7 separate regions of the Homo sapiens genome follow, and all the other regions are linked to region 6. The links are contacts of gene promoters, found by promoter capture Hi-C in blood cells and fetal thymus (Javierre and others, 2016). All regions are on one chromosome and are shown on one strand. The core of a region is centred on a gene start or on the middle of the fragment in contact, and the rest is flanking DNA. Distances in the headings are between cores, read along the strand shown. Region 1 has its middle 39 kb from the start of LINC02725. Region 2 has its middle 80 kb from the start of LINC02725. Region 3 has its middle 59 kb from the start of LINC02725. Region 4 has its middle 22 kb from the start of LINC02725. Region 5 has its middle 120 kb from the start of LINC02725. Region 6 holds the start of KCNJ5 (potassium inwardly rectifying channel subfamily J member 5). Region 7 has its middle 100 kb from the start of LINC02725.

Region 1 (3,156 bases), core at 446-2,945, 830 kb after region 6:
ACACTGGAACACATTCCATGTCTGTGTGAAGTTGGCAGGTTCTTATTTTAATACGCTGCCTCATAACCATCATCCTAATCTGAGTTGAGGGGGTGCATTTTGGCGATGGAGAAAAACATGTAAGTTGCAATTCTCAAATTATATTTGGCAGAATATGACGTTTCCTCCCTCTCAGTACCAAACCTGACAAAAATATCTGATCAAATTTCCAAAATAATTAAGGGTTTAAAAAGTCATGCAGACATGGTCCCAGCTTCAGCCTAAGCTGCACTCACCCCTGGGACTCAGACATGTCTGGGTTTGACCGGTTAGCAAGTAGAGCAAGCAGCTCCCTGGCATCTAGTGAAGGAATTCAATTGCATGTGGGAAAGAAGCCTCAGTAAAGGAGGATTGGTGAGAAGCACCAGGAGGACATCTGAGATCTTTTAAGTTCTCTGGGCCGGCATTAGCTGCTTCTATTTGAGCCCTATAGAAAGCAAAGTGCAGCTGTAAGATAAACTGTTTGAACAATTCCATTATTTCCTGGGAGACTCTGAAACACAACCAGTTCTACATTGGTTCTCTGGTGACAAAGTGAGGGAGAGGAGCCTTTTGTCTACATCTACGCTAAACCCGGCATAGCCTTGGTGTATTGAGAGCTCCACTCTGTATGGAGCAGGCATGCAGACTTTGTGATGAGAACATGGATACTCCATGGTGGGCACTGCCAGAGGGCAAGAGGGTGGTACTCTGAACTGGCTTATCAGGAAGCAGGTACTGACGAGGAGACTGGAACAGGAGAGGAAGAACCTTGCTGATGCCATGTGGCCACTGGAGCCCTAGGAATTGTTTGCAAGCTCAGGTGATACATCTCCAAGTCACTCCAAGGAACAACTGGATTAGACTATAGGATTAGACTTTGAAGCGTTAAAGAGGTTTTTGTGGAAGCAGGGGAAATGGCACTTGTGGAATTATTACTATTAATTTTGTACTCATTGTACTCACTTGTAGTCAAAGCCTGTAGAAATGTACCTTAAATTATTTGATGTAGATATGTATAGATATGTGTAGATTTTAAACTATCAATGAAAAAGTGGCAGGTTAGTTTACTCTGTCATCTACAAGTCCTTTTATTCACTTATACTTTCTTCCAAAAACATTATTTTCCCTTTCCTAGATGTCTCAAATTTGATATTTGTAAATATTCATCCATTTATTCACTAAATATCTTTTTTTTTCAAGAGTCTGTGAAATCTAGTGGGTATGCTATAAGATTCCAGATAAGACAGGTTGGGACTTGAACCCTGTCCTTGCTATTACTCACTGGGGGCTATCGTCAAGTTTCTTAATCTATCTGTGCCTCAGTTTTCTCATAAGTAAAATGGGAATCACACACACACATTCACATACACATATGCCCTTATTGAGTTGCTGCAAAAGTATAGATAATGTACTTATTTCAATGTCTGAATATAGTCAGTGCTTATTCATGTTAGCTTAAATAACCAACAGCAACATTATTATCTATTATGAACATGCAGGGCCTTGTGAGAAAACAGGAAAAAATGTCTCAGGGTCATTGTCAAGGAGTCCTTTTTATGCTCCGGTAAGAAAGGTAAGTCTTATAATTTTGGAACAGTCATGTTGTCATTGAAAGATGAGTTTTCTCTCTAGTATTCCTGCCCTAGTGTCAGTCCCCATTTTGGCTTTTGGGTGTGAAGAGTGGTTTGTCTTTTTTGCTGGTATCTTTTGTTCAGTGAAATAGTGAATATATACCTTTGTTCTGTTTACTTCCCATGGTTTTATTTTCTCTCATTAATGTTTTTCCTAAATTCCACTGCAAAAAAAAAAAAATGGCTGATAAAGATGGAGAAAAAAAGTCTAGAAAGAGGGATTTGTTTGTGTCTTCTCCTAGTAAAATTTTCAGCCCTTGGCGGTGGTGGACATTTTTCTCTCTTATCACATTCTCTGCAGTTGAGCTATTCCCACCAGAGACATATTCAGGACTGGACATTATTTTGATTTTAAAGAAGGGGTAATCATGAATTAATTATTAATTTCAATCATGAAGAAATGATGGTCAAAGAAGAAGTAATCAAAAGAGAACAGTAAATAAATAGAGGCTTCACACCCAGATTGTAGGATGGCTACAATCACAAAGACAGCAAATAACATGTGCTGGTGAAGATATGGAGAATGGAGAACCCTCATACCCTGCTGTTGGGGATGCTGAATGGGGAAGCCCCTTTGAAAGACAGCCAGAAAGTTCTTCAAAAGGTTAAATGCAGAGTGACCACATGACTCAGAAGTCACATTTCTAGATTTATACCCAGGTGAAATGAAAATATGTCTCCACCCAAAAGATTATAGCAACATTATTCATTATACACAAAAAGTGGAAACAGCTCAAATCTCCTTCAGGTGATAAATGGATAAATAAAATGTGGGTTATTCATATAATAGAACCTGATTCATCAATAAAAATAAATGGAGCACTGATGCATGCTATGGTGTGGATGTACAGCATGTATGAACATGAAAAACACTTTGCTCAGTGAAAGAAGGACGTCATACTGTATGATTCCATTTAAATAAAATGTCCAGAATAGGCAAATCAACAGGGACAGAAAGTAGATTCGTCGTTGCCAGGGCTGGAGTGGAAGGGACTGGGGGAAATGGGGAGGGACTGACATTGGGTGTGGGGTTTCTTTTTGGTGTCATGAAATGATCCAAAATTCACTGTGGTGGTGGGTAACTTTTCGAATATACTTAAATCATTGACTTGTACATTTTAAATGGGTGAATTGTATGGTATGTGAATTATATTTTAGTAACACTGAGCTTAAAAAAATAGACTGACACAATGTAGATAACTACCCCACCTATATTCCACCCCTAACTATAGTGAACTTTTATAAATAACCTTGAGATATAAAACTTTGCCCCTGGAAGAAAGGGAACATCTGTGTTACAAACACAAACATGGACAATTTCTTCAAGAAATAAAGGGAAATTAGAATTTTTTTAAAAACCTGCAATTCCAAGTTACATTTTTAAGAATTGCTATGCACTTTGACAAGTGCAGGACAGTTCCTCATCAACTATGCTGTGATCGTACAGTTTGCTGAAATATTTTCATTTCTAGCATATTATTATATTAAGAAAAGAAAGTGCTTT
Region 2 (3,365 bases), core at 356-2,855, 880 kb after region 6:
GGAGTTACTCAGTGTTGAATTTCATAGCACATTCACCTTTATGCCTACAACTTCCCTTACACCTACATACTGATAACTCACAAATTTATATCTCCAGCTTTGACTTCTCCTCCAAGTTCTAGGCTTTACCAACTAATTGCCTATTAGATGTATGCACTCGGAAGACTTAAAAGCTGTCCATGGTAATTTTGATACAACACTGATGATCTCACTCCAGATATTGGTATTCCTTCAGTGTCTTCCCTATCAGCTAATGGTACTGTCATTCATTCAGGTGTTAATGTCAAAAACCTAGTCAACCTCATCCCTCTTATCTCCATGTCTCATATCAGATACCAATATGATTGTTCTCTCCTTGATTAAAATTGTTCAATAATTTTGTATTAATTAATTAAAATAATAAAGTAGAAGAAGAAACAACTAATATTTAATGAGCCTCATCTGACAGCATTCACTGTACTTTAGAAAACTGGCCTTATTTTAACAGGTGAAATGTGCCATGCTCTGCCCTGAACCAGGCCATGTCCCCTCCTCTGTCTCGAATACTCCGTATTTCTTCTAGGTAACTCCTGTTCGACCTTCAGTTCTCAGCTCAAACTCTTCCTTAGAGAAGCCTTTCCCATTTCTCCAAACTAAGGCAGGTCTCTTTATTATACACTAAATTCATTCCTTCTCCTTTAAGGAAGAACACATTTCTTTATTGTAATATTATTTTGTTTTAGTTAATTATTTTATTGAAGTCTATTTTCTAAATAGACTGTGAGCTCCATAAAGTAAGTGACTTTATCATGACAAAAATGAGAATAATAATTAAGCCCAGGTTTACAAGAACTCAGGGAATTGGGTGAGGAAAGTTAGACAATGTGCTCAATACAAAATGTTTTTGCTTCTTTGTCTCCTATATTTTTCATTTATAAGGAATTCTGCTAGTGGAAAGATATTGAGTATGTTGACCATGAAAAGATAGCTTGATTTTCTCAGTCTCCTTATGATAGAAAATAGTAGAAGGTAATAGTGTGTGTGTCTGTGTGTGTGTGTATGTGTGTGTAAGGGGAAAAAGAGAGTTGCCATCAATAATGTGTAAGTTTACTTGTAAATCTGGACTCTTGAATCAGTCCATGTAAGGTGCTAATAAATTGGCAGACAGGTGTAAACTTTGCTTCAGCCACCATACCTTGTGACATGAGGCATTAGCTCTCTTGGATGAGGCAGCCTAGAAAGGCCCCAAGTCTAAATCCATCCATGTCTACTGGGCTAAGGGAGTGAGATGGAAATGTGCAAACCAGCTTATAGTGGAGGAGTAGGTTGAACTCTAGTTATGCAATCCATAGATAATATGCAAGAACTCAGCTTTAGCAAAGCATACCAAGGAGTGTGGTGTGTCCCCACATATGATTAGAACAAGGTCAACCCTTCTCAATAACTTGTGAGACCATACAGAGAAAGCAGAGACAATTTCAAGTGTTGCTGGGCTGTTAGATTCCATAACAGAGTATTTGGGACTTCAGGGCTAGGAAAATCTCCTTCGAATTAAACATAAGTGATGGGAAAGGAAGTACATCTGAAGAGCACACTTCCTCAGGTGCTTTAGCTATGGAAGGGAAGTGAAAGCAAGGTCATGGCTTAGACCGGCAAGCAGTAGAGTTCTGCCAGGTAAAGAGTGGCCATATCACATGGTGGTTGCTTTTTGGACTTTAGACAGAAGAGATGGCCCAGGGTCTTGGCTTGTTTCTCCTTCCTAGGCCCTAGCCGCCAGTGATCTCTGTGTCCTTCTCTTTCTGCTCCACCTGTGCCTACTTATGTTTCCCCTTTGCTTGTTCTTACTCCATTTATGTTGCTCAGGGATTGTTATTGTCAGTTTCAGGATGCTCAGCATCCACACACATGGGGCCACTGGAAGGACGGAATGTCAGCAAAAGCAAAAATGTCCAGGGACCTACCTCTGTGTTGTTCATGGGGCCCTGACTGGCCAGAAGACATTATTCCTAGGTGAGGGCAGTGCATTCTGTCATTATTATATAGAACTCCCAATAGGAGTCCTATAAAATGATTCTAGACAGATCTTTTACCCGCTCCACATTAGAAGCAGCTTAGCAAGTCAAATGCCTTACTACCAGTAACTATGTTGACCCTCCACCCCATAGAGCATTGCTTAGCTTGGGATAACCCCTGAACTAAAAGTAGAGTCATTCTTTGGAACCAAATCTAAGAACTTGGAACTGGAAACTAAAATAGATTCCCCTACTGTCAGAGACGTCTTTGCTGTTGGATCTTCCTCATGCCTTCTGCAACCTCCCAATTCCTTATTTTGCTTGTCTCCTTGGTCCTTTTATTACTGGCAACCAGACCTATCTCCTTTCCAGTGCCTACCCCAGTCCTAAAACACACAGCTAATTCTGATCCCATCTTTTCCCTATTTGCCTTATCTTATTAGGTTTTACCCGTCCATCTTCACCTCTGTGGCTGAAACCTTATAGATGGCGAACTTCAAGGCAAAAGCAGATTTTTCAGAGAAGTTCCCTCTTATGTAGTGCTAGTAACAGAGCATGGAATGAGGCTGGGCATGCTGGTGGGAACAGGTAGTCCTGGTGCTTATAATAAGGACATGGAGAATTATACGTGAAAGGTATATGTAGGTACTCAGTAAAATTTGCTGATGTATAAATTATTGGGAATAAAACTGATCAGTTTCCGTGGAGAGCTCTTTTTGATCTTTAATTTTATTTTCACACCAATCAAAAAATATTTTACGTTTTTTTTGTGTGTGTCAGGGCCCTGATTACTGGGACATAGAGTAAAACATGTTGAAGCCCTTTGGAGCTGAATATTTAGGACGGTGAGTTATACCTCTCCTGGTTTAATAATCTGTATGAAATTAGAGCAAATTCTCATGATGCCCAGATTCTGGAAAGTATCTTGAGGGCTGGGAGAATACTGCTTCCTGATATCTCCATCCCCATCAAAGTTCAAAAGCACAAGTCAAAAATATCCTTCTTAGAACCTTTGGGATGGTTGTTTCAGTGACTTTGGAAAGTAACATTCTCTCTCTCTCTCTTCTCTCTCTCTCTTTCTCTCACATTACTGTTTCTTAAATTACATTGGTGTTACTTGCTTCAAGGAAAGTTTATTCAAATAATTGACATCTGGCTGGAGCCACACTATGGCCTTTTCTTTGGAATGAAGATTTTCGTAGCAGCTGATGCTAGAGACCAAGTCCCATGCTTGAGGTGTGAGCTCCCTTTTGGGCAGCTCCTGACTACACCAGCAATGTTAATTAAGTTTCTTAATCAAATCCTCAGCTCTAACGGTGTGCTTTTGCTCTGTGTGCTTTGTCTAGTTAAAATACTTCTAAAAGCAAATACCTG
Region 3 (3,343 bases), core at 509-3,008, 850 kb after region 6:
CAGTCAGTAAAATAACATCTGAGGATGCACAGAATGAGAGGGGCATTCGGGATCTTTCCTTCCACAGAGCCCCTCTGCTGGCTCGCCACCCCGTGAACCTCATTCAGCTCAGGCTGCTATTCAGAGAGAGCCCGCGGTCCCCGCCCCTATGCAAGAGCTTAGGGGGGGAGTTAAGACCGCTGCACAAATATATGAAATAAAAGGGCTATGGCAAATGAGTCATTTAAAGTATAAGGAATTGGGCTGGGCACTGTGCCTCACTCCTGTAATCCCAGCACTTTGGGAGGCCGAAGCGGGTGGATCACTTGAGGTCAGGAGCTCCCAGGCTGGCCAACATAGTAAAACCCCCTCTCTGCTAAAAATACAAAAAAATTAGCTGGGTGTGGTGGCCTGCACCTGTGATTCCAGCTACTCGGGGGGCTGAGGCAAAAGAATTGCTTTAACCCGAGATGGAGGCTGCAGTGAGCCGAGATTGTGCCACCGTACCCCAGCATGGGCGACAGAGCGAGACTCCGTCCCAAAAAGGAAGAAAAGAAGGAAGGAAGGAAGGAAGAAAAGAAGGAAGGAAGGAAGGAAGGAAGGAAGGAAGGAAGGAAGGAAGGAAGGAAGGAAGGAAGGAAGGAAAGAAGGAAGGGGAATTGGAATTTTTTTCCTCCTGGAAATGCTTTCCTCTCATGGTGTCTATTGGATTCCTTCTCTCGTTTGTCTTAGTTCATTCCTGGCTGTTCTTTGTTCCTGACTTCTCTTCTTTTGCGTGCAACCGAGACATTCTTTGGAGTTCCACGCTTGACTTTTCCTCTACCTGCAGGTCCCCCAGCTTCACTGGCAATGCTTACTGGAGCCTTCCAGAACTCATTCCCACACCCAGGGCCCCTTAGCTCGAGGTGTGCCATCTGCACCCTGGAGGCTTCTCAAACTTATTACACCTGAGAACACACTCGGTAGCTTCTTCCTATTTCTTCTGACAAATGATGTTGCTGTCACACCTGGGCCAGAAATCTGGACACCAGCCCTGCCTTCACCCCATGCTAACCCTGCATATGCCCTGGCCAGCATCAGGCTGTTGATTCTGCATTCGTATCTTCTCTATGTCACAGACCAGAGTCATTGGCTACAAGGTACAGAAACTTTCTCAAGGCAGATGAGGTAAGGGGAGCTTGTTGTAAAACCATGGCAGACAATTCCATGGGCACCCAAGGGAATGACAGACTCAGCAAGCCATAATGAGGGCTGTGACTGGAACTGGAAATTCAAGAGCCAAGGATGTTCTCTCTATCACTCAAGAGCCCCAGAATCTCTTTCTTTGCTCCTGATTCCTTTCTATTTCAAGAGAAATCATGTCCTGTCTGAAGCTGTCTCTGAGTCCAGGGATCCACGGATATGGAGCACTGGACACGTGAGCCTGTGGCTCAGCCTGCTCCTGACTTGCCTCAGGGCCTATCAGGTTACACTCTCATCCTACTCCTGCATGTCTGCCTTGCCCACCACATTCTCCAAAGACTGTGAGCTCTGTGAGGGCTGTGATTGTGTCTCACTCATCTTTGTATTCCCCAGAAGTCATCACATTCCCTGGCACATAGTGACATGCAATAATGCTTGCTGACTGGACATCTGTCTCTACACAGACAGTGCACACATTTGCCATAACCTCAGTACAGACCACGTCATCTCTGAATGACTGCGAGAGTCTCAAGTTCATCTCTGGTTTCTACTACTTGCCCCCTGTTTGGACTGACCTGTTTCCCTTTGTCCATGTGAGTGTATCCTCTGCAGAATGGCTGGAGTGACTATGGTGAAACTCAGGTCAGACAATGGCATGTCTCTGCTCAAAATCTTCCCGTGGCTTCCCATCTTGCACTGATGCCAAATTCTTACAGGTGTGAAAAGCACTGTAGGATCCGACCCTGCACTGCCTCCTGCAACTCCTCCTAACACTGCCCAGTCACTGGGCTCCAGCCACAGCAGCCCCTCACTGTCCCCCATCACAGCCTTCTAGGACGCACTTGACCCACCCTTTGCCTGGAAGCCTCAGGCAGAGATCTTCACGGCTGCTCTTTCACATCCTCTAGGTCTCCGGTCACATATCAGTTTATCACAAAGGTCTGCACCCCAAACCCTCTATATAAGGAAATACGCCCATTGAGGTACCTCTATGCCCCTTTTTTTGCTTTGATCTTTCATGTAGCATTTTCAAAATGAGCACCTATTATATCTTTTGTACTAATGTTATGCTGTGTGTCTCACATCTCTTGAATATCTGTTCCTTAAAGTGACAGACTTTTAAACTGTTCACCGATATATCTCAATACCTAAAATAGTGCTTGACACAGTTGATTCCGAAAAAATGTTTTTTGAAATGAGTGCATAAGTCATTGGAAAGATATTTATAATGCTGTTTTTATTTGCTTTTCTCCAGTTTTAACCTGCTCTGTGACTTTATGTTTCTGCTACCGTAAATCTATTATTTGTTGCCAAATCGGCCACACATCCTCTGGTTTTATTGTGTGGTGGTGGCAGGCGGGTGGGGGGGCAATCTTTGTTTTAAGGTTTAAATTAAAGTGTAGTGCACTTCTATCCCAAGGAGAAGAAAAAGATCATATAGAGATGAATGGAAATTAGAGGTATGAGTGGTATATTAGTCAGGGTTCTCTAGAGGGACAGAATTTACAGGATAGATGTATACATAAAGGGGAGTTCATTAAGGAGTATTAACTCACACGATCACAAGGTGAGGTCCCACAGTAGGCTGTCTGCAAGCTGTGGAGCAAGGACACCAGTCAGAGTCTCAAAGCTGAACTTGGAGTTCGATGTTTGAGGGCAGGAAGCATCCAGCACGGGAGAAAGATGTAGGCTGGGAGGCTAAGCCAGTCTAATTTTTTCACATTCTTCTGCCTGCTTTATACTAGCTGTGCTGGCAGCTGATTAGATGGTGCCCACCAAGATTGACAGTGGGTCTGCCTCTCCCAGTGCACTGACTCAAATGCTCATCTCCTGTGGCAGCACCCTCACAGACACACCTAGAAACAGTACTTTGCACCCTTCAATCCAATCAAGTTGACATTCAATATTCACCATCACAAGTGGTCAACCATGCTGTCTAAACCCTGTGTATGTATGTGTGCCTGCTCCCGTGTGCATACAGAAGTGTGTGTGTAGGAATGCACATGGCGTGTATGTGTGTAGACACTTCTGTAGCACTGTCCCTGCATGTGCAGGTGCATATGCAATTATTCCCAACACTGTCCATTGAGAGGGCCGAGAAGGAGAGACAGCCTAGGAGCAATGAGGGTGCTTAGTGTTCAAATCTGTCTCTGTATGAAAAGGAAACAAGAATCCTCGGGGT
Region 4 (3,277 bases), core at 387-2,886, 820 kb after region 6:
TTTATCCTTCTTAGGATTCATTGAGCATCCCAAAGCTCAGGGCTTGTTTTTGTTTTTGTTTTTATTTTCCATCTTTTCTAGACATTTTTAATCCTTTTCTCATCAAATATGTTTTTCTGTCATAGAAAAACTTCACCTTTGATCAACTATTTGATAGTGCTTCTCATCATTTCCTCCGTCTCCTTATTTAATCTTTCCTATCTCATATCTCTTGATCTCTGTACAAAATTGTGATACTTTCTCTAGATCTATTTTATACTTCACCAACTGTTTCAGAATTACCATAGAATCTACTATTTAAATAATCTATTGATTTATAAAATTTTAATAATAAAATTTATCTTTTCTATAATCTTTTTAGTTATTTTCAAAGCTATCATTCCTTATTCATGTTTTCAATGCCCAGTCTAATTATTTAAACTATTTATTATTTACATTTTATATATGTATATTCTAATAAACAAGACTCTTGGGGGTAAAATTATGCTGTTTATTATTTCTGCTATCAAGTATGGTGGCTTGTTTCCTTTGGTTTGAGATTTGCGATTCGGAAGCCTTTCTTTGACTTAATGTCCTCTGTGAGTTATAATTCAAGTTCAGCCTCACCACCAATGAGAGCTCAGCCTGGCTGGTTTCCTTTATTAATCACTTGTGAAATAAGGATATAAAGAAGGTAAAGCTTTATTTATTTTATTTCAGAGGCAACGGTAGAGTTTGTTCCTCTATTGTTTCATAAGCCATGCACTAGTTCCATTCTTTGAGTAGTTTCTAAATATATGCATATTTTACTAAAAGTATAAGGTCAATTAATGTCTCTGAACTATAAGTTAACATATTAACTATTCTTATTATTATAACTTAGCAATTATTCTTTTTCTAATCTTTTAGAGCTATTATGTTTTATAACTCAAATTAGATATTATTGTTACTATATTGTAATCCAGTTGATTATTTATATCTCAAAACCTTAAGATTGTTTTCTATTACCTGAAACACATCTTTCAGTAATTAGTTTCAAATTCTAGTCCTATAATACCAAAGTATATTTCCCCCTTGAGCATGCTTTTAAGATTATAAATTTATGTTGCTACTGGGACCAAAAGGCTGCCTCGTTTTTCATATGTGGTGCATTTGTCTTTTTTTCTGACCTTCCAGAGGCAGCTGCATGAAAAGTGTCAGTACCATTGCTTTTTGCTACGAGTAGAAATGACACTAGCTGTAATTAAATCCCTATCATTTTAGAAATGGACAATCCTAAATTGCCACTTTTGTTTTCCTAAGCAAGAGTTTCCTTCTATGAGTGTCTTGCTTCACTATCATATTTAAATGTGTCTGTGTTTTCCATTGCCCGTTTACTCAAGCCACTATCTGCTCTTCCTTGGATTATGACAGAAGCCTCTTAACTGATGTCTTCATTCCTCTCAGATCTTTTCAGATCTGTTCTTATTATAACAAGTGCAAAAACTCAGGTACCAAATCAGTTCTTACAGAATTCAATTTTTATTTAAAAGAAAACCAAAACGAAGGAGAGTCTGAAGGATTGACAGGATATTTATTTAGCTATACAGTATTGTCAGTCTAAAAGGAAGGTACTGGGACAGGAAGAAGAGAAAAAAAAAGAAAGAAAAAACAAGATGGACGTGAATGAGATGGAAGGAGAAGAGGAGTATGGGTTGCAAGATGGAGGATGAGAAGATAAAAGGGCAACTGAAGGTGCTGTGGAGAAAACACTGTCCGTTTTTACCAATTTTTCTTTTGGGCAGGCCACATGAACTGACCTCAGTAATGGAGTGGAAATCACAGGGCGAAAGAGAGGAAAAGAGGAATGTCTTTCTTGCTCTTCAAAAGCTCAGGTATAATAAATCCTATGCAACGTAACAGTAGATCCCATTAGACCTTCTTGGGCACAGGCTAATGGGGTTTGGACAGGGTCCAGTGGCAATCCACAAACCTGCAAACCTCCCAGGCTGTGCTGTTTGCTTGAGTGTGAGCTGTTTGCAAGAGGGCAGGGGTATGTCTGGAATAGTTGAGCTGTTGTTTGGGGGCTGGACTGGCTTCTACTCAGGAAATGTTGGGAGAAAAACAGGTGAGAAAAAGTAAGAAGAGGAAATATACATGTATTGCCTAAAAGAAGAAACAGGACTAAGGACCTGACTAAATCTTACTCCCTCTATGACAAATTCCATTTCCAAGAAATACATGACTATCAGAACCTACTAGGGTAAACAAGTGTAAAATAAAATATTCTGTCACACTTAGCTGTCATTCCCAACAGTCTAGACTAGGAGAGTGTCCAGATGAGGGATAAGAACATAGATGTGGGGAAAAGAAAGAATAAAGTAGAAAGATAAATTCATTCTTCTGTATCTCCAAGTCACTCTCTTCTAACTGCAAGTGGTGCAATAAAGACTTTCAATGCACCTCAGCCCAATGCAGTACATATTTATCAAACTGAGCATTATTCCTAATATTACCTAAAGGTAAATCAACAGAAGCATAGCGAGTCCCCTGAACAAAACGGGTGTGTGTGAGTGTGTGTATTTGGGGGAATAGCTCATCCAACATTCATCTCCCTTCCTTTTCCTTAAGCTTGCAATTAATGTAAATCATGCCTTACCTGAATGAGAGACATTTTACAGTTGCACTGCTTGGGTTCCAAATCCTGACTCGGAGGCACTGAGAGGTTAACTAGCACAACTGGCAAGTACATTTTCCTCTGTGTGAAATGTGAGAATTTAGTTTGTAAATATAAGTGCTTAGAACAATTACTGGCACATTATAAAATGTTTGCTATAATGATCACATCTCCACTAAATCAAGTAAAATCTACTTCCAAGTTCTCATTCACCAAAGTTCTTAAGATGTGCAATACAAATGTTTTGGTAGCTCCTTCTTCCTCCCACATTAGAACAAAGACTCTGAGATTATGCAGTCCAGGTGAGAATGAGCAAGGAGGCCCATGATTGTAATTATTAAGCACACAGAGGTGCTGGCTCTAATACGAATTTACTACGTGGATCCTTCCTACAGCTCTCAAGAATGTGATACCTAGTGCCCATCCTCCACAAGCTCCAGAGAACCATAGACAATCTGAGGTCCAGGTACTGCCTGGCACAGTGTGCAAAGGAAGTACATGTCTTTTCCACATTACATTCCAAAGACTGTCCCTTTCTAATGAGAAAGATATCACCTTTGACAAGTTCTCCCTTCATCTCACAGTACAAGTTTCTATCCCTTTGCCTTCTGGGAGCATCCATCTTAATACTTTTCATAGGCC
Region 5 (3,209 bases), core at 512-3,011, 920 kb after region 6:
TCAATGCTATCAAAAGCAAAATCCCAGAAAGTTATATTGAGGACGTTAACAACCTCATGCTAACATTGCATGGAAAGTCAAAGACCCAGGATAGCCAACATAATAATGAAAAAGACAAAGAGAAAATTTGGAGAACTGACACATCCATGTTCAAGCCTTACTATAAAGTGACACCAAGCAAGACAGCATGGTTTTGGTGAAAGAATAGAAAAATAGATCAATGGAACAGAATAGAGAGCCCAGAAATAGGCCCAAACAGACAAAGTTATGTGGTATGATAAATGAACAAATGCAATTCAATTGTTAAAAGATATCCTTTCAACAAATGTTACTGGAACAATTGGATGTTCATATGCAAACAAAAATTAAATCTAAACACAGACCTTATTATACTTTTTGCAGTGATTAAGTCATAATGGATTATAAATAGAAATGTAAAATGCAAAACTCTACAACTTTCGGCAGATAACACAGGAGAAAGTCTAGGTGTCCTTAAGTTATTGGTAAGTTTTTGAAGTAATACCAAAAGCATAATCCATGAAAGAAAAAAAAACTGATAACTGGATCCCTTCCTTAAACCTTATACAAAAATTAATTCAAGATGGATTAAAGACTTAAATGTTAGATGTAAAACCATAAAAACCCTAGTAGAAAACCTAGGCATTACCATTCAGGACATAGGCATGGGCAAGGACTTCATGTCTAAAACACCAAAAGCAATGGCAACAAAAGACAAAATTGACAAATGGGATCTAATTAAACTAAAGAGCTTCTGCACAGCAAAACAAACTACCATCAGAGTGAACAGGCAACCTACAAAATGGGAGAAAATTTTTGCAACCTACTCATCTGACAAAGGGCTAATATCCAGAATCTACAATGAACTCAAACAAATTTACAAGAAAAAAACAAACAACCCCATCAAAAAGTGGGCAAAGGATATGAACAGACACTTCTCAAAAGAAGACATTTATGCAGCCAAAAGACACATGAAAAAATGCTCATCATCACTGGCCGTCAGAGAAATGCAAATCAAAACCACAATGAGATACCATCTCACACCAGTTAGAATGGCGATCATTAAAACGTCAGGAAACAACAGGTGCTGGAGAGGATGTGGAGAAATAGGAACACTTTTACACTGTTGGTGGGACTGTAAACTAGTTCAACCATTGTGGAAGTCAGTGTGGCGATTCCTCAGGGATCTAGAACTAGAAATACCATTTGACCCAGCCATCCCATTACTGGGTATATACCCAAAGGACTATAAATCATGCTGCTATAAAGACACATGCACACGTATGTTTATTGTGGCACTATTCACAATAGCAAAGACTTGGAACCAACCCAAATGTCCAACAATGATAGACTAGATTAAGAAAATGTGGCACATATACACCATGGAATACTATACAGCCATAAAAAATGATGAGTTCATGTCCTTTGTAGGGACATGGATGAAATTGGAAATCATCATTCTCAGTAAACTATCTCAAGGACAAAAAACCAAACACTGCATGTTCTCACTCATAGATGGGAATTGAACAGTGAGAACACATGGACACAGGAAGGACACACTCTGGGGACTGTTGTGGGGTCGGGGGAGGCGGGAGGGATAGCATTAGGAGATATACCTAATGCTAAATGACGAGTTAATGGGTGCAGCACACCAGCATGGCACATGTATACAAATGTAACTAACCTGCACATTGTGCACATGTACCCTAAAACTTAAAGTATAATAATAATAATAAATAAAAAAATAAAAAAATAAATTAGAAACTCTGCTCTGTGAAAGACACTTTCATAGACTGGAGAATATATTTGCAAGCAAATATCTATAAAGTACTTGTATCATATGCAAAAATCCCTTAACATTTTAACCACAAGAAAACAAGCAACCCAGTGAAAAAGTGCACCTCACCCAAATGTATAATATTTTACCTGTAGCTCAATAACAATTCTGAATTAATTTGTGTATAATGTATGAGACCTAGAGCAACATTGTTATTATTTTGATAATCAAAAAGTCTGTTTTTCAGTGTTTTCTTGTCAAAAGAGAAAAACAATAGAGAAATCAATGAAAAGAGATTTAGTTAATTAAAAAGATCAATAATATTGACAAAACTTTAGCAAGAGTGGCAAAAAAAAAAGAAGACACAAATTACTTATAATACGAATACAAAAGAGATATCAGTACAGAAGCTCCAGGATAGTGAGCGAACACAATGAATAACACTACATTTCTCCTTTCATCTTTATTATTTCCTTTATTCTGCTTACTTTGGGCTTAATTTATCCCTTTCTTTTTTATTTTCTTCAGGTGGGATCTTAGATTATTGATTTGATACTTTTCATTTTTTCCACTACAGGATTCAGTCCTATAAATTTCTTACTCCACACTGTTGTACCTGTGTTCCACAAATTTTAATATGCTATATTTTCATTCATTAAATACATATATATTTCATTTATATATATTTCACTCATTAAATATATATATTATATATATATCATTCATTAAATATGTATATATATATATATTTATTTATTTTTTTGAGAGAGAGAGTCTCGTGATGTCACCCAGGCTGGAGTGTAGTGGTGCAATCCCGGCTCACTGTAACCTTCGCCTCCCAGGTTCAAGCGATTCTCCTGCCTCAGCCTCCAGAGTAGCTGGGATTACAGGCATGCACCACCACACCTGACTAATTTTTGTATTTTTAGTAGAGACAGGTTTCACCATGTTGTCCAGGCTGGTCTCAAATTCCCGACCTGTAGTGATCCTCCCACCTTGACCTCCCAAAGTACTGGGATTACAGGCGTGAGCCACCATGCCCCGCCTTACTTTTTATTTCTCTTGAGAACTTTTTTTTTTTCACTCATGGAATATTTAAAAGTGTTTAGTTTCCAAGTGCTGAGAGTTTCCTATTCTTTCTGTTGTTGATTGCTGAGTTCATTCCATTGTGATTGGATAATATGCTCTGTAGTTTTTCAATTATTTTGAATATATTGGGTTTGGTTTATGGCCTGAAATATTGTCCATTGTGGTATACTTCCTTTGGTTACTTGAAGTGAATATGTATTCTACTGTTGAAGGGTGTAGTAGTCTATAGCTGTCAATTAGATCCTGTTGGTTGATGGTGTTGAATTGATTTATATGCTTTTTGATTTTCTGTCTAGTTGGTTTACTAATTGGTGAAAGGGTCATA
Region 6 (3,058 bases), core at 316-2,815:
GCCTGGAATTCTGTTACCCTTACTCTCATCTATAAAACAGAAGAAATAAGCTCTGCCCCACAGGACTGGTGTCAAGATGAACTCATGTAAACGTATATAGCTCGGCACCTTGGTTTCATAAATATTAGCCTTTTCCTCACATGGAAAAGTGCTTTGAGAACCAGAAAGCCCGATAAACCATATGGCTTTTGATGAAAACGAGGCACATTTTGGAGTCAGATATAGGAGAGAATCTCCCTTTATGAGCTGTGCACCTGAGGCAAATTGCACAGCCTCTCTGGGCTTCAATTTTTCACCTGTAGAATGAGGATGATAATCTCAGCTTATTAAAAGGATTGAAACAGAGTAAAATACTTGGCGTGTTCCTGTTGATCTTCTTCTGGTGTTTGAAAAGGCTCCTGGAACAGGTTTTGGGCTGGTGTTGCTCACCCTGATGTTCAGGGTAGGCCCTAGAACTTTGGGGGCCGGACCTGAGGCCCTCCACAGCCCCTGGGGTTGGAGAGCCCTGTTTGAGGGAAGGCACAGATAAAACCAGGGGGCCAACAGCTCTGCAGGGAGAAGCACTGACTTGAAGAGAAGGGGAGCAATGACAAGGCCGGCCTTCTCTGTTCCCTATCCTCTGTCCTCACAGGCTTGACCCCTGGCCTTTCTGAACCATTTGAAAGCTCTTTAAAAGGAGATAGGGAGGTACGCAGGAAGTGACTTGGGCAGCGAGGGGGGCAGAAATCACAAGGCCGTGTTTCCAGTTTGGCCACACTTAAAAGAGAAAGCAAGATTAGGCTGGGGATCTAAGGCTGAGGGGGGCACCGCCCCCCATCCTGGCCCTCCCTGCTCCCATTTGAAGGAAGAGTCCTACCAGGTGAAAAATGTCCTCCACACCCCACCCACTCCTGGCCACTGTTGCCTCTCAAACCACTGCTGGGAGATCTGGGGCACCCCCAGGTAGCCCTGGTCTAGTGCCAGAAGTGAAGGTGTTTATGGCTGGGCTCCCAACGCACAGGGCAGCCTGCAGCCACGGAGATCTCCAATTTCCTAAACTTGGACCTGCCCTAAGCTTTTCCTTATCCCCCCTGGCTCCCAGTCTAGCAGGTTCCCTGTGAAAGCCTGCTGCCCAGGTGATGGACACCTGAGGGTGTCATCCTGCCCTCCAGAACCCGCGAGCTGGGGGAGAAATGGAGGAGGAAAAGAAGACAACTTACTTGTTGAGATCGGAGCTTCCGAGTCCCACTGATGCTAACTTCTGGGGTGTCCCTTAGCGGCGGTGCAGGGGGGCTCAGGGCTTTTGAGGGGACTCCCCAGCCCCTGCCATGACCCCACGGAGGAGCTGTAGCTGGAACCTCTCCCTGTTGTGGGGTCCTGTGGGCAGAGGTACCTAAGCCATCCTGTCCCTTCACTCGCGGCCCCTTGGGTCACTCCCTTTCTCTAGCGAGAGCAGCTGGAACAATCTCTCTCTCTCTCTCTCTCTCTCTCTCTCTCTCTGTGTGTGTGTGTGTGTGTGTGTGTGTGTGTGTGTGTGTGTGTGTCCCCTCCTCCCTCTCCTCTCTCCCTCCGTCCCTGGTACAAATGAATCTCTGGGTAGTAACGCGACTGGAAGGGCCACCGGCGTTGGCGGCGGGGGGCGGGCTGGGGTGGGGCGGGGGCTCCATGTGATCCGGGACGCCGTCAGCTCGGCAGGACTGGGAGGGAAGAGGAAGGCGGAGAGAGAGCCCGGCAGGCATCCAGCCCTCCGCTCGCGTCCCCGCGGCCCCCTGCGCCCTCCCCCGGCTCCCCCTGCCCCCGGCTGCACCCCTGCTGCGGGGTGCCAGGGACGGAGACCCGCGCGCGCGCGTGTGAGCGTCCCATGCCTGTGTGTGAGCGCCGCGTGTCACGCGTGTCCGTGTGTGAGCGCCGCGTATTTAGTGGGTGCGGTGGAGCAGACAGAAAGAAGGGAGAAACTATTAGGGCAGAAATCTTGGCTCGGAGCCTCGGCGGGGCTGCTCAGTCGCTCCGCGGTGCGCTAAGCGGACGGTTGGCAGCATTTCGCCGTTTCCCGAGAGGGATGGAGCAGATGGGGGGATTCCTTTGGGAAGGCGGGGGAGCCACAGTCTGGGCGCTGCATCCCCCGCCCGACGGCTCTGATTCCCGCCGTGGAGTGAGGGTCCGGGGGCCTGATCCGCCAGCTGCAGGGGGAGTAGGTCCAGGGACAGGACCCAGGCTAGCTGTCCCCGGGCTCGCTGCTCACCCCGGACGATCTCTCCCCGGCGTGCGGCGGCGGCTGGGCGGCGATGGCTGGAAACGCGCCCTGCACGGACAGGAGGCGGGAGCAGCCCGGAGGGAACGGAGCTCAACCTTGCCCAGGCGTGGGCAGAGCCGGCGTCCTCCGCGCCACCTCCCGGCTCTCCCTTTTGGATTCCTACCTGCCTTGAGGACAGATGATGACCAGAGTGTGTTCTTTAATTCGTGGAAGCCGTAGGAAAGGCAGCTGCCAGGGCAGGCTGAAAGGGAGGGCTGCTGTCTGGGGAGGGCCGGCAGGTGCCTCTGAGGACCGGTCTGTTCGGGGTGGCCCTTCTCACCCGGTGGTGTTCCTTCTGGCCCCTCTCCGTTACCCAGCCTTTTGGGGTCAACACCCCCCCTGCCAGCCCCCTCTCTCAGGGCAGACACAGCTGGTCAAACGTGGGGTGCCCTAGCACCTAGCACAAGTGCTAGGTGAATGATGTCTACGACCAGAAAACTGGTTTATTACGTTGCAATGAGAAAAATGCTTGTCACTAATACTGGAGGGCACCAAGTCCATCCTCTCCTGTAAGGACAGTGACAGGGAAACTTAGTCTCTAACAGTGGCCTGGGGGTCCTCTTGCCTCGGAGACCAGCGTACACACAGCCCGTTGCCCAGGCACCCTCCCCTGGGACAGAGCACAGAGCGGTCCGGCCAGAGTGGGCCTCCTGATTGCCCCTCTTCTCTCTGTAGAGGGGGTGATTGTTAAATGTGGCTGCAACAGGCCCTAACAGGAAAGCTCTGTGTCCCCTTAGGGGACTCAGCTTGCCTAGGTGCTCACGCACTGCACCATATGTTGTTTGA
Region 7 (3,479 bases), core at 519-3,018, 900 kb after region 6:
TTGGATCACATGGAATCTGCCCCCGCCACCCCCCCACAATTTAGTATATAAGGAGCACATCTGTGATGGCAGTGTTGCCAGAAAAGCAGAAGAAATGTTAGTGCTGGAAAATGAAAATGAATTGATTGACTCCTGTATGTCTCCATAAGTGAACACAATATGAATAATAATAAAAGCTTCAGTTCAATGCGTGCCTAGGATGTGCTAAACACTGTTCTAAGTGCTTAAGATATATTATTTCATCTAATCCTCACAAGAGCACAATGAGGCAGGAATAATTGCACACATTATATGGAGGAAGAAACTGGTATACATAGGGAGTGATTTCACAGTCCTAAGATCCCAAGGTGAGAAAATGGAAGAGTCAGGATGTCTGATTACAAACCAGGTGCAAGTAACGACGATGCTAAACAATCTACATGTAGCTCACATCAAATGAAGATTAAGGAGTGACAGATTTCAAGATGATAGATTCAGGTTTTACAGAGACAGAGTTCTGTGTTTGCTTGTAGATAACCATGTTTGTTTTCCTTCACTATAAAAAAAATCATTGCAATATATATTCTACTAATGTAGTTACAAAATTAGACATTCAGAGCAAGCGAGATCCTTGCACGTCCCATAGAAATGAGGCATGCATTCCAGAATGTCTGCGTAATTCAGTTAGTTTTTAAATTGTGAAATCACACTTTAGGATTTTCTCTCTTTGTGGGCCAGTTAGTTGTGTTTTTTTTTTTTCCACTACCACAGAAAACATCCTCACACCAGCCTCCAGCCATCAAATTGCCAGCTGTCATAAGGATCGGCAGATCAACATTGTCCTGAAAAAACAGGGCAGAGTGCCGGTCATACAGTTGATAGGTTGGTGATGATCTTTTAATTTAAAAGTCGCTTATAATTCTAGCAAGACATTCCTCCATCTCCCTGTGTAGTAATCCAACAGATCTCTTAAGGCAAAACAATGAACCAAAAGTGTGTCCTTCTCTTGGGCCCCAGGCAATGTGGAGAGAGCCATGGTAATTTATTTTTGTACAACACTTCACCATGACAAGGGACTATCAGATCTCTATTGGTCCTCATGCTTGTAGAGAAGGCCACACACACATCTATGAGGATAAAAATGAGACTCTTAGGTCCTGGATGACTTGACAAGTTTGTCTAGTACGTGGCTGTATTAGTTCTTGAATTAGTCTTAAATTTGTGCCAACTTCAAAGCCAGTATTTACTGAAGAATAACTTTTTGCTCTAGTTTGTGAAAGGTACAAAATAGGTTATTCCTTCATGTTTTTGTTGGGTCAGAATAGGCATACCTTACTCGTACTGCAGTGTTGCCGTGTTTCTGATGGATTGTCCTAGTGTAGGGGAGAAAGAATTTGGGGGAACTTCTTCACTGATCAAAATCACTAACCTTTTTCTAACCACAGCACTTTTTATTAATTCCACCTCTGACTGAGAAATGTTTTGAACATATTATTCATGCATATGGATTGCTGTGTGTGAAAATCATAAAGTGAAACTTATTTCTATTAGTCAAAAGACATAGCCAATGTAACTAACTCCCTCTCTGTCTTGTGGACAGCATGGAGCATAGTTCACCTTTGCAAACTGCCTGAGACATGCACAGAGAATGGCATTATCTACCAATGCTAGACGTTTTTTTTTTTTCTTTGAGATGGAGTCTCTCTCTGTCACCAGGTTGGAGTGCAGTGGTGCGATCTCGGCTCACTGCAACCTCCACCTCCTGGGTTCAAGTGATTCTTGTGCCTCAGTCTCCTGAGTAGCTGGGATTACAGGCACGCGCCACCACACCCAGCTAATTTTCACATTTTTATAGAGACGGGATTTCACCATGTTGGCCAGGGTGGTCTCGATCTCCTGACCTGGTGATCCACCTGCCTTGGCCTCCCAAAGTGCTGGGACTACAGGCATGAACCACCGCACCCGGCCAAATGCTAGGCATTTTAAAGTCTGCAGCTGAAATAATACCCAAAGAGAAAATTATCCATAGTGTTAGAGAAATATCATATATTAAGACAGAGGAGCTCAGAGAACAGAGAAGATGAGTGGGAAAGTCCTAAGGAAAGATTTCAGGAAAAACAACCCCACCCCCCAACCCCAATTACGGATTCAACAGCTGAGAATGACCTTGTGTGTTTATGGTTACCATTTTAAACGTTTGTCTAATCCCAGTTGAAAGGTGGAAAATAGCAAGTTACCTCCAAAGTGCAGAGCTCTATAGGCTGATTTCACCTCAAAATTCCACGAGGAACACACCTGCTCAGCCCATTGGGTCAGAAGCCCCAGAGAGCTGCTCTCACACGTTACATTGTCCACTGGAGAGTCTGTCCACACAGCCAGGCTCAAGAGGGAATGTATGATGTCTTTTCCTTGCTTCCTCTGCTGCCATTTCTGTTGTTTATCTCAAGGTACATAAAGGTGTGGAGGCCCAGCTGATCTTGTTTAAGAGGCTGATCTCAGCATAGTGTGAGTGGAGAGAGGAAGAAAATAAACAGGATAATGAAGGGGCTTCCAGGTATGGGCAATGGTTTGTTTCTTGAGCTGGGTACTGAATGCACATGGGTTCCGTTTGTAAACATTCCATTGGCTGTATATTTGTGGCAGGAATATTTTCTGAATATGTATTATATTACAATAAAATGGAGGGGAAAAAAAGCCTGGCTGTATTTTGTCATTCCTGGTGTACGAGTAGTAGTTTTAGGGTAAAAATCTCTAGTACAAAACCTTTGAGTTAGGACTTGGAATTTCAAACCCAACATACTCAGATATTTCAAATGCCTGAAGCATTATGTGTTCGTTCATAGCCTCAACACTCTGAGTCTTACATTGTTCTTCTTTCCCTAAGGTTACTTTATTTCAGAGAAGTGTGAGAAAGTCTACCTAAATGGAACTTAAGCCATGTTAGTCAGAATATCACCGTATCTATCTACCTCTCCTCTACCTTCTCCAATTTTTTTTCGAGAGAAAATCTAATTGGTTAAAATTTCTTCAAGTGATTTATGATTAAAGAAAACAGTTACCTTATTTAACATTAATGGTCACTTCAAAAGTTATAGATAAGTCACAGAAAAACTTATTTTTTTCTAAATAATACCTCATTTTCCCATAAAATGAAATGGACTGTGTGTCCAGATGTGAGAGAGAAGTGTGCTGACTTTTTAACTTTTGCCTACAGAAATGTCCGTGCTGGCTTTAAGGTTAAAGTGTCACAGGAGACATGCTGGGGGTTGTCTAATCTAGAAAATAATAAAATAACCTTTATCTCTATTAAACTATGTACACACACACACACACACACACACATTTGCACGCTGTGATTTATGCACCTTTTCCTGAAGCTTTTGAAAAATGCTGAAAGTTCCATCACCAAACCACTCAGGAAAAGCAGAAGTTAACTAACAAATCTTATTCCCTAAACTGTACTTACATAACTAATGATCCTTTTACACTCCAATGAAGTC

The links. The method cuts DNA at HindIII sites, captures the fragments that hold promoters and counts their contacts. A CHiCAGO score of 5 or more calls a contact.
Region 1: a fragment that was not itself captured here is called in contact with the fragment with the promoter of KCNJ5 in region 6 in 1 of 17 cell types (total B cells); the score reaches 6.7 in total B cells.
Region 2: a fragment that was not itself captured here is called in contact with the fragment with the promoter of KCNJ5 in region 6 in 6 of 17 cell types (non-activated CD4 T cells, activated CD4 T cells, total CD4 T cells and 3 more); the score reaches 9.4 in non-activated CD4 T cells.
Region 3: a contact is called between a fragment that was not itself captured here and the fragment with the promoter of KCNJ5 in region 6, in 7 of 17 cell types (naive B cells, naive CD8 T cells, total B cells and 4 more). The highest score is 7.9, in naive B cells.
Region 4: a contact is called between a fragment that was not itself captured here and the fragment with the promoter of KCNJ5 in region 6, in 5 of 17 cell types (naive B cells, naive CD4 T cells, activated CD4 T cells and 2 more). The highest score is 5.7, in naive B cells.
Region 5: a fragment that was not itself captured here is called in contact with the fragment with the promoter of KCNJ5 in region 6 in 3 of 17 cell types (total CD8 T cells, total CD4 T cells and activated CD4 T cells); the score reaches 6.3 in total CD8 T cells.
Region 7: a contact is called between a fragment that was not itself captured here and the fragment with the promoter of KCNJ5 in region 6, in 5 of 17 cell types (naive CD8 T cells, activated CD4 T cells, total CD8 T cells and 2 more). The highest score is 8.4, in naive CD8 T cells.

What each region holds. Positions count from the first base shown.
Region 1 is chr11:128,055,089-128,058,244 of GRCh38, reverse strand. No RefSeq gene overlaps it. Among named protein-coding and RNA genes, the nearest start is that of LINC02725, 39 kb to the left of the region's middle. The HindIII fragment of the contact is 6,879 bases long and covers 1-3,156 here.
Region 2 is chr11:128,014,257-128,017,621 of GRCh38, reverse strand. No RefSeq gene overlaps it. Among named protein-coding and RNA genes, the nearest start is that of LINC02725, 80 kb to the left of the region's middle. The HindIII fragment of the contact is 5,844 bases long and covers 1-3,365 here.
Region 3 is chr11:128,034,963-128,038,305 of GRCh38, reverse strand. No RefSeq gene overlaps it. Among named protein-coding and RNA genes, the nearest start is that of LINC02725, 59 kb to the left of the region's middle. The HindIII fragment of the contact is 6,153 bases long and covers 1-3,343 here.
Region 4 is chr11:128,071,689-128,074,965 of GRCh38, reverse strand. No RefSeq gene overlaps it. Among named protein-coding and RNA genes, the nearest start is that of LINC02725, 22 kb to the left of the region's middle. The HindIII fragment of the contact is 1,910 bases long and covers 682-2,591 here.
Region 5 is chr11:127,974,382-127,977,590 of GRCh38, reverse strand. No RefSeq gene overlaps it. Among named protein-coding and RNA genes, the nearest start is that of LINC02725, 120 kb to the left of the region's middle. The HindIII fragment of the contact is 4,588 bases long and covers 1-3,209 here.
Region 6 is chr11:128,889,863-128,892,920 of GRCh38, reverse strand. It overlaps KCNJ5 (potassium inwardly rectifying channel subfamily J member 5), which reads right to left and starts at 1,565. Exons shown (of 3, transcript NM_000890.5): 1 at 1,200-1,565. The HindIII fragment of the contact is 6,484 bases long and covers 1,057-3,058 here.
Region 7 is chr11:127,994,220-127,997,698 of GRCh38, reverse strand. No RefSeq gene overlaps it. Among named protein-coding and RNA genes, the nearest start is that of LINC02725, 100 kb to the left of the region's middle. The HindIII fragment of the contact is 3,180 bases long and covers 179-3,358 here.